Regions from separate parts of the Homo sapiens genome. Here region 1 is linked to region 2. The links are contacts of gene promoters, found by promoter capture Hi-C in human tissues and cell types (Jung and others, 2019). All regions are on one chromosome and are shown on one strand. The core of a region is centred on a gene start or on the middle of the fragment in contact, and the rest is flanking DNA. Distances in the headings are between cores, read along the strand shown.

Evidence for each region. Contacts are between HindIII fragments. The study calls those that stand out against the background at their distance.
Region 1: a fragment that was not itself captured here is called in contact with the fragment with the promoter of GBX2 in region 2 in 1 of the 25 tissues and cell types used here (lymphoblastoid cells).

What each region holds. Positions count from the first base shown.
Region 1 is chr2:234,544,960-234,549,768 of GRCh38, reverse strand. No RefSeq gene overlaps it. Among named protein-coding and RNA genes, the nearest start is that of ARL4C, 50 kb to the right of the region's middle. The HindIII fragment of the contact is 4,438 bases long and covers 137-4,574 here.
Region 2 is chr2:236,166,887-236,172,135 of GRCh38, reverse strand. It overlaps GBX2 (gastrulation brain homeobox 2), which reads left to right and starts at 3,750. Exons shown (of 2, transcript NM_001485.4): 1 at 3,750-4,687. The coding sequence starts at 4,165. It overlaps GBX2-AS1 (GBX2 and ASB18 antisense RNA 1), which reads right to left and starts at 4,694. Exons shown (of 2, transcript NR_186035.1): 1 at 4,467-4,694. LOC124906126 (a long non-coding RNA gene) reads right to left here and starts at 3,110. Exons shown (of 2, transcript XR_007088136.1): 1 at 2,752-3,110; 2 at 2,340-2,607. RefSeq lists an enhancer at 4,619-5,249. The HindIII fragment of the contact is 12,753 bases long and covers 1-5,249 here.

The DNA of each region.
Region 1 (4,809 bases), core at 1,106-3,605, 1.6 Mb after region 2:
ATATAAAGATGAGAACAATAGGCACTGGGGACTCCAAAAGGAGAGAAGGAGGGAGAAAGGGAGGGAGTGGGGAGAAAGGGCTGAAGACTTTCTACTGGGTACTACCCTCACTATGTGGGTGATGGAATCAATAGAAGTCCAAACATCAGCATCACATGATATATCCTTGAAACAAACCTGCACGTGTAACCCCTGAATCTAAAATATAAAACAATTTAAAAACTCTGTGTCTTTAAATGTTTTCCACCTGCACCTGAAAGAAGAAGAACCTACGCAACTTTGAATCATACGAAGGAGTAATAGAATCTTAGAGTTGAGCCAGAGATCTCAGAGGTCCTCGTCCACACACCTCCTGATGGAGAGATTCCTTCCATAGCAACCCTGAGAGAGGGCGGACTGACCTCAGCCAAATCCATCAGAATGCTTTTGTTTGCAAGACACAAAACGAGGCAAACCCAAACCATGTGACTTATCAGTGATGGGAACTCATTGACTCACTGTCTGCATCTCTATATTGGAGTATGAGAGGGGACCGGCCAAGAAGCCAGTACAGCAGCCAGCTGTTTGGGTTGCTAGGATTCCAGACCACATGTCCCTGGGCCCCAGGAGAGGAAGCTTCCCTCTCTCCCCAGCCCGCCCCCTTTCCAGATTGTAATGCTAATGATAAGCACAGGTGTGACAACATGGGTGTAAAGCCCCTCGATTTCTTTTTCAAGCAACTCAGACGTTACTAGAGTCTGTAGGAGAAGCACAGACCCATAGCCTGGAGAAGCCATGGAGGCCACAGGCTCAGGCTGCCCTTTTCTGGTGAAGTCATTTTCTTCTTCATAATATTCTTGCTGTAGCACAAACTCCTCCCGGGCCCTCCCCGCTGGTTTCCCCTAGACACAGCTCACTCAGCACCCTCACCGTCTGAATGGATGATTATCCTTTTGTGTGTAGTTTTTCTCAATTCTGACTTTGTTCTCATAGAGGAGGAGGCCTTGGCCAGGGCGAAGGGGTTCGGGAAGGCAGCCACGCCCTCGAGCGGGTGTCTTTAGCCCCTGCCTGGGCTCCCTCGACTGCTCCAAAGAATTCAGAACTGCCTGTTTCCTCTCTCTCACTCCAAAACACTGGTTTCTCTCTCCTCCAAGTCTGCCTGAGCTGCAACTTTTTCCCAAAGTTTAACAATTTAATTCCTTGATGCCTTTCTTCTTGTCAACGTTTATTTTGGGTTCAGGGGTACATGTGCAGGTTTGTTACATAGGTAAACTCATGTCACGACATCCGTTGCACAGATTATTTTATCCCCCAGGAATTAAGCCCAGTACCCAGTAGTGATCTCTTCTGCTCTTCTCCCTTCCCCCACCCTCCACCCCCAAGTAGACCCGTGTCTGTTATTTTCTTCTTTGTGTTCATGAGTTCTTATCATTTAGCTCCTGGATGCCTTTCACTCTTTCTTCCAATCACCCCTCCTAGTGGAAAGCCCAGAGGCCACGAGCTTTGGACGCTGTGGTCAGGTAGGCCAGTGCCCCCAGGGACCGCTCTGTGCCTCCCTTGGCCAGGGTTTTTATGGCAGCTGGGGCTGGCCAGCTCTTCCATCATGTGGGTGCCCCTGGGGAAACAGGGATTGGAGTGTGCTGACTTATACAAGCGCTGGGGAGCTAGCCACAAATGTCCACTATATCGCCCCCTTCTAGAAAATTTCCAGCAATGAGATCCTCACTGCCTTAGAAGGTGCCTGCTTCATGGTTGGTTGCCTTTCATTGGCACAGGCCTGGGAACCAGGCTTCCTGGGTTCAAATCCCAGCTCCACCAATTGGCAGCCCATAATATTGGGCAAGTTTCCTAAGTGCACTGGCCTCAGCTACCTCCTGTGGAAGGTGGAAGGTATAATTGTTCCACTCCAGCATTGCTGTGAGAATCAACAGGAGGACACACATAAGGCACCTGATGTGTTGCACCTGCTCAGTAACTGCTGTCTCTGCTTCCATTTATCCTCCAACACTCCTCCTTCTGCCCTTCAGCCATTCATTCTATTCCTATGACATGGAGGCCACAGAATCCGTCTACCCTTGCGTCTGTGTTTTCAGCATTTTGGGCAGCTCTCACTGCTTCAAAAAGAATTGCCCTTGATTCTTCCTCAGGCCAAACTGACTGCTTCTTCAACTTCTCCTGAGTTTACCTCACCTCCTCATACTGCCCCTTCTCACTTCCTTGAATCCACCTCTGCCTTCCCTGCTGTGCGCCCACCACACACAGCACGCCCTCACCACCCTGTGCACCGACCTTTCCTCCCTGGGCCCTTTCAGTTTGGCATGAGATGTCCTCTCTCCAGATCCTCTCCCCACTGCCCCCATCATCTCCCTGAATGACACCTGCTTTCCTCAGCACCTGATTTAGGTAACACCTCCTCCAGGAAAGCTGAATATCTTAAGACTAGTGAGGGCCAGGGCCTCCTCACCCCACTCCCTTCCTGCTTGCCTCTCTCTTCTTTGTTAGACGCTTCCCAAGGCATGAATCAACTCTGTCTGTTGGTCACTATTCCTGGAGTGTAAGCCCCTGGAGGGGGAGGGCTGTCTTTCTCACCTCCACCCCTCTGTTGTCTAGAAGAGTGTCTAGCATATAGGACAAGCTCAGTAAAGATTTGAAGAATGAATGAAGGAAGAAAGGAGCCAGCCCTCACACACTAGATGTGGTCTGACAAATGCAGAGAAAGCATGAACTCCCCCTGGTTTGCTAGGTCTGCTCGGCAGGAAGTGAGAAGGACAGAGCACTCAGGTGAGCTGATGGCTAAAAGCTCGCTGTATGCACATATGCACCTCCTACTGCATGCACATGTAGATAGGCAGATGGGTCTTTCCCCAGTGCTTGCCAATTGCTATTCTCATTGTGTGTAACAGTAAATGGGGGAAGGAAATTTGCAACAACAGGAGTGACAGTTGGTGCTGATCATGTTTTCTACGCTGCAAACCTTACCTGTAAACACATTGGGTGGGTTGTAAGTTTGTAAAACTGTTCAAGAAAGAATCTCAGAGAGGTTTCGGGAAGGGCTTTTAAAAGACAGCATTTGGTCCTAGGAAATATACATAGGCAAATGGGACGACTAAGTAGAATAAAGAGAATGAGAGTGAAGGTGTGAATCCAGGACACAGACTTTTGAAAGTGGCAAAGAAATTTATTTAAAACCATCCTATATAAGAGCAGTGGCAACAACATTCTCCCAGGCAAAAACACACAGACACTCTATCCGTCTCACACACACATGCAGGATCTCACACACACACACACACACACACACACACGATGCAAGATCACTAATATGATATAACTGACTAATAATGAGGATTTTTTTACAGCCTGTAATGAAATAATATCACGGTACAGACTCGTTATAATTCTTCCTCCTCCTTGCATCTCACTTATTTAACTAGAATTGAAGTAGGGAGAAAAAGAAACCTTCCATTCATCCTGTGGAGAACAGCTAATAATTGGGAAAAGCTGCCTGAATATTATACAGGTAGATGTGAGTCCGCCACTATGTTTTTATCCTCAGGGATCCAAGAATTTTAGGTTTGTATGTGAGGAGGGAGGGATGGAAGTGAGAAGGGTCTTTTAAAACTAAATGAAACCATGAGGAGATACCATCTCTTCTGGATTAAAAAACTTATTTTTTTTTTTTCATCCAGGCACGGTGGCTCACACCTGTAATCCTAGCACTTTGGGAGGCCGAGGTGGGTGGATCATTTGAGGTCAGGAGTTCGAGACCAGCCTGGCCAACATGATAAAACCCCATCTCTACTAAAAATACAAAATAAGCCGGGTGTGGTGGCAGGTACCTGTAGTCCCAGCTACTCAGGAGGCTGAGGCAGGAGAATCACTTGAACCCGGGGGGTGGAGGTTGCAGTGAGCTGAAATCGTGCCACTGCACGCCAGCCTGGGCGACAGAGTGAGACTCTGTGTGACATTTGAATGCCTCAAATGTCAAAAAAGAAAAGTTATTTTTTTCAACTTGCCTTTTTGGGGGATTCATGAGAGTCTAAGTTAGGGCTTCCCTAAAGAAAACTGGGAGAGAGCTGCAGAAATACAATATAGAGAAGTCAGAAAATACAGACACTCAAAAAATAACCCCAAAGTACTTCAATGTTATGACTTAAAACAGAGCTCACCATCCCCCTTCAGAATGTTTTCCTTCACTTGCAAGAGCACAGACACCTTTTGTTTGTTAGAGATCACCAGGAAAGCTCATTCTATACCCAGTCTTCCGGCCTCCCGGGAAACTGACCGTCTTCCGTGTCGGTAAATCCGGATCTATTCAGATGAGCTTTTTACGGTGCAATTTCTGATTCTAGTCATAATTACCACACAGCTCCTCCTGGGTGTGTGTAATCCTGTGCCATATAAAACCTGAGAGCACTGTAGTTCTCAATCCAAAATCAATCCATTTAGCTTTCAAACACCCTACAAGCTCATTTATTTTCTCAAATTGGTTTTTGCTTAACCAAGTGTTAAAATGAGTTTAGAACCCGCGGGCGCGCACGGGTGGGACAGGTAAGCAGCCCTACTGGGCGGTGCTGCACGCAGGGGCAAAGCAGCCCCAGGTGAACCCTGACATCCGCCCCAGGGACATCCCGGCCCGGCTCTGGTTCTCGCTCTGCGTTTCTTCTCTTCACCACCAGGGGGCAGGCTCCTAGCGGGATGAAAACCCTGCGCTGCCTGATGCTGCATGGGTTTGCTGGGTGGGTCCCGCTTCCACACTGGGGATCCTTGAGAAAGAGACGGTCTTTGATGACTTTGGCTACTGATTCAGCATTCCAGACCAAAAAAGCC
Region 2 (5,249 bases), core at 2,501-5,000:
TTAATTCCGTCCTGTTGGTGAATGGCTCTTTTACATAATTGCAGGAGCTATTTCAAAGCCAGCCAAGGGCTGACTTCACTTAGAACCACATGGAGTCTATTTTGGGCTTTCAGATTAAAAAAAAAAAAAAGCTGAATAAAATGTTTAAAAAGATGAGGCTTCAATGCTTTCTGCTACTTGCAAATTAGTGTGTCTGATGGGGAATTTTACACAAGCGCCCCTTTGTAAGTGCGTCCTGGGCTCGGGAGGGACTGTTCAGGGTTAGCTGGGTGTGAATCCCAATTGCCCTTCCATAAATAAAACCCATCCCAAGTTATTTCCCAACTATTGCCAGGAGCAAGAGCTGCGGCAATGACCAAACGATCGGGCTTCTCAAAATCCCTGTAAATAAAAACAACTCGGTTGCCCGAGAAACCAGCCTGTCGCCTAGGACTGGGCGACTGGCGGGAGCGCCAGACCCTCGAGGCCCGCAGGATTCCCCGCGTCCTCCGAGACCACGGGTGGCCACACCGTACCCTCTCCACGACCACCCGTTACCTCGACTCTGGCGGCGGCAGCGAAGCGCGCCATTCGCGGTGCTTCCTCCTCCGGATTGGGCTGGGCTGGGCTGGGCAGGCCAGCACAAGTTTGCTGCATGAATATTCATTTACTTGTGCGTTTTCTATTTCACCCTCAACCTTCATACATCTGCATGCAAGCGCAGCCTGGGACAACCCCGAAGCGAGGGGCCAACTTAATTACCATCACTTTTTCGGAATGTCTGAGGTTTTAAGTGGCATCATCTGAACCTGACACTAGCCTAGCACCTGTCGAGTGAAGTGCCCAGGGGCTGAGCTATCTTCATCTAGGGGGGAAGAGGGGAGGGAAGTTCACGAAGTTAACTGGAGTTGGAGGACCCAGCTCTCCCTTCGGGTGCGCCCTTCATTTTTCCTAATTGGAGGGGGGAGGGGACCAAGTTGCAAACATCTGTGCCCGGTGATTTTCCCGCGTAGACTGGGCCGAGCTGAGTCACGGAGGACTCTGCAGTTTGAGGCTGTTACGAGCTAAGCAGGTAGGAATCCGGAGGATGGATAAGCCATGCATCTATCGCTCCTGTCCATAAATCTATCCGAGGAGCCGAGGAAAAACTCTAAAGGCTTTTATTATCCGCAGTCCCCACGCTCTGAACGCTTTGCAGGTAGCTGAGGTGCCCCGAATGCATCTTGTTAATCACGCCGAAACACAAGGATCCTTTTATGACACGAACAGTCGTTTTCTAAGCAGCTAAGCATTAGATGAGAAAGTATTACTGCATTGCATTTGCGAAAAAGGCACTAGTAAATAAAATTCATATTGATGGGAATTATCTGAACTCACTAATAAAAGATTAGTATTATAACCCCTGCAGTCAATACTTGCTATGGCAATTTATGGATGCAAATAACATGCCATCAAATTATTTCAAGTGCAGCTATAATTCGACGGACCTAAATCTTCTTGCTGAACTTTAAATGTAGAATAATCACCAAAATAATCAAAGGAATCCCTGCCTCTCAGAGGGTAATCAGGCGACAAAAGTCCCTAGAACAATATTTTTGCGGCGAAATAGCAAAGTGCATGGCAAACCTGCCTAGGTAAAATGAATAACAGCTTCCCCCGGCATGTCAGTGGCAAGCCGGAAGGGCCCCGGCTGTAGCCACGTAAATCAAGGAAGGAATGGAGCGTTTCTTAGTATTCAAAAAACAGGGTAATGGCACCCAAGGCTGTGTCACTGTAACTATCTCATAATGAGGGGGAGTATTTATTATGCTCATAAAGATATCAGCCTTTTGCCCTGGGCTTCGATTTTTTTTTTCTTTTTCTTCTTTTCTGGGAGTGAAGAAGGAGGGATAGAGCCTGGAGATCCCACAGACACCTCCTTCTCCATGGATCCCAAAGGGAATTCATTTCCCCTCACACTGCCTAAGCCACCTCGGGGTCTGGGCGTGAAGTCAGGGGAGGCAATCCAGGCAGCGTCCTAATGAATTCCTTTCAAACCGCCTGCTGCCGGAGCGATCTATTACTGCGGCCTGGAGTGGGGAAACGCGATCGAGACGTCTTTGTCCGGGTGGTGGTAGGGAGGGAGGAGGCGAGGAGGAGGAGAGGGCTGGCGGCGGACCAGCGAGTTTTCCCAGCGTCCCGGGGCGCCAAGGACACACCCTCCCCTCTTTCCTCCAGGTCTGCTGGGTGGGCAGTGGGTCTCCGGCGGGACTCCTGGCAGAGGAGCTGATCTGGGATTAAGACGTCCCCCGGGGGGCCTTGGGGCTAGAGCGAGAGAAAGAGGAAGAACGCGAAAAAAGAGCTTCAAAGAATCGGGTCGATAAATTCATAAAGATCGATTTATCTTTATCTCCCAATTAAATGTGCTTGTAAGTGATACATAACACACGTCCAACACGGGCCAACTCCCCAACCACTAGCTCCTCGGCGTGAGCTGATTTTTAATGACCGAACTAACAATGCCCTTCTTTCCTTCTCCCCAACCCGGTGCTGTTGGCGGTTCAGGGCTGACGTCTAGACCCGGGAAGTTGAAGCCCGGGCCTTGGAGACTCGAGGAAGCCCCGCTCGCGCTGGTGCGCTCTGCACGGTCTGCCGTTGTCAAGAAGTGATTCCATTTTTAAAGGGAAGACAAGAGCTGAAAGTTTTTTGTTTGAAAATGGAAGAGGGGATAAGTACGTCCCTAGTTTCCCTCCACCCCAAAATTCCCTTACTTTCAAATTTGGGGGTCTTTACCGTTGTCGAGAACAGGGGAAACATCCTGAGGGGATCGGCTCCATCCTGCAGTTAGCAAAGAGGAACCGCGCGCCCTCGAGTCCTCGCGCTGGAAACCGGGCGGCGGCGCCAGGGTGAGCACTCCTTGCGTTCGCAACGTGCTTAATTAGCGCCTATTTACAAAACGCAGCTTTTATTTGAGCAAACATCATAAAGCTTTCATCAGGATAATCTCACGTTATACAATCTGGAGGCACAGCAACTCCCCCCTTCCTCCCCGAGGATGGAGCAGATAAAGGACTCTCTTTATTATCATAATTATCGTGGTTGTTATTTTGGTGCGCGCTGGCAAAGTGTGTAAATAGGTGCGATGATTAAGAATGTCATGAAAAATGAGAGACGGGATCGCTCACGGGAGGGCCCAGCCCGGGATGGGGGAAGCAGCAGCCTCCCCGCCCCACCCGGTGCGCGGACCTACAGCGAGCAACCCGGCGGGTTTCTGGCGGCGGGCAGGCGCTGCCAGCTCCCAGCCTTCGCCCCGGGGGTGGCTCCGGAGGGGCAGGACCCTGCCCCCAACTCCAGGACCCTCGCCCGGACCCCAGGCGCAGCCGGAGCACCCAGCGCTGGAGTGAGCCGCAGGCAGGTTGGTTCCATGGCAAATACAGTAAAAGAAATAAAGCGCCCCCGGCCCAGCCGTGGGGGTGCGGGCCCCGGAGGCTACCCTTCGAGGTGGCCTCGACAAGGCTGCAGGGCCCCAAGGTCCGAGCCTTGGAGGTGCCATCCGCCCGTCTCAAGTTTGCGCGGCACGGGCTAGGCATGCAGGCTCCGGCTCCCCGGCCCGCGCGCTCCGACGGTGGCGCCCGCAGCCCGCTCGAGGCCAGCTTGGGTGGAAAGGGCGGGGCCCCGCTTTCGCCCCACCCCCGCCCCGCTCAGCCAATGGCCAGAGGCGCCCAGCCCCACGTGAGGCGAGCCGGGCCAGGCGGCAGGCAAAATGTGAATGAGAAAGAGGAGCGCGATTTAAAGGTGCTGGCTGCGCCCGCCGGAGATAAGTACGCCGGCTTCGCGCGCTCCCCAGCGGCCCGCGGGAGGCGACGGACGGCGGGACGGACGGACGGACGGCAGCTTACCGGGGCCGAGGGCCAAACCCGCGAAGCGCGCGGGCTCCGACGGGCAAGCGGCGGACGGGGGCTCCGGCGAGCCCTCGGGGCCCGGGCGCCCTCTCCACTCCGGGGCGCACGGCCTCACCCCGCACACCCCCTGCACCCGCCCGGCATGCAGCGGGCCCAGGACTGAGGGGCGGAGGCGTCTGCTCTCCGGGTCCCGCTCGGCCCCTGCCCGGCGCTCCCGGCGGTGCTCCCGGCGTCCGGCGGGCTTCCCGGCGGCGGCGCGGCGCGGGGACTTTTCGCCTCTCGCTGGCCTCTACCGAGCGCGTCTATGAGCGCAGCGTTCCCGCCGTCGCTGATGATGATGCAGCGCCCGCTGGGGAGTAGCACCGCCTTCAGCATAGACTCGCTGATCGGCAGCCCGCCGCAGCCCAGCCCCGGCCATTTCGTCTACACCGGCTACCCCATGTTCATGCCCTACCGGCCGGTAGTGCTGCCGCCGCCGCCGCCGCCGCCGCCCGCGCTGCCCCAGGCCGCGCTGCAGCCAGCGCTGCCGCCCGCACACCCTCACCACCAGATCCCCAGCCTGCCCACAGGCTTCTGCTCCAGCCTGGCGCAGGGCATGGCGCTCACCTCTACGCTCATGGCCACGCTCCCCGGCGGCTTCTCCGCGTCGCCCCAGCACCAGGAGGCGGCAGCGGCCCGCAAGTTCGCGCCGCAGCCGCTGCCCGGCGGCGGTAACTTCGACAAGGCGGAGGCGCTGCAGGCTGACGCGGAGGACGGCAAAGGCTTCCTGGCCAAAGAGGGCTCGCTGCTCGCCTTCTCCGCGGCCGAGACGGTGCAGGCTTCGCTCGGTGAGTCGGCGGCGCGCGCAGCCGGGACGAGGGGGCGGGAGGAGGCGGGGGCGGGCCAGCGCCGGGTTCCCGCGGGAGACCAAGGGGGCGAGGCCGCGCCCCCGCTCGACCCCCGCGGGAGGAGCTGGAGGATGAGGCCCGGCTGTGCCGCTGGGCCTCCGGGGGACATTCAGAGCCACCCAACAAGCGGGGTCTCGGGAGGGGGGGCGTTTAGCGCCCGGCGACCAGCTGCTGCCCTGGGCCACATATCTATCTGACGATGCGTTTGGCCGAGGCCGCCTCTGCCGCTCCGCGGTGACCTGGGGTTCCGGGTAGGTTGCAGCCTCTAGGGGAGACGGGTTGGGCTGCGCGTCTCAGCCGTGCGTGTGCCCAGGGGCGCCCAGACTTTTTAAACCCCTTCGCTGGTCTTGCTACTTGTCTGGGAGAAACGGACTGCTGGGAGGCTGTGCCTGTGTGTTTGTGTTGGGGGTGTCTGGTGGGAACTTATAAGGCCACAAAACATCCCTTTGACCAACGTTGTCTGTCTCAAAAAAGATGGTCTGGGATCTGCACGTCCCTACGC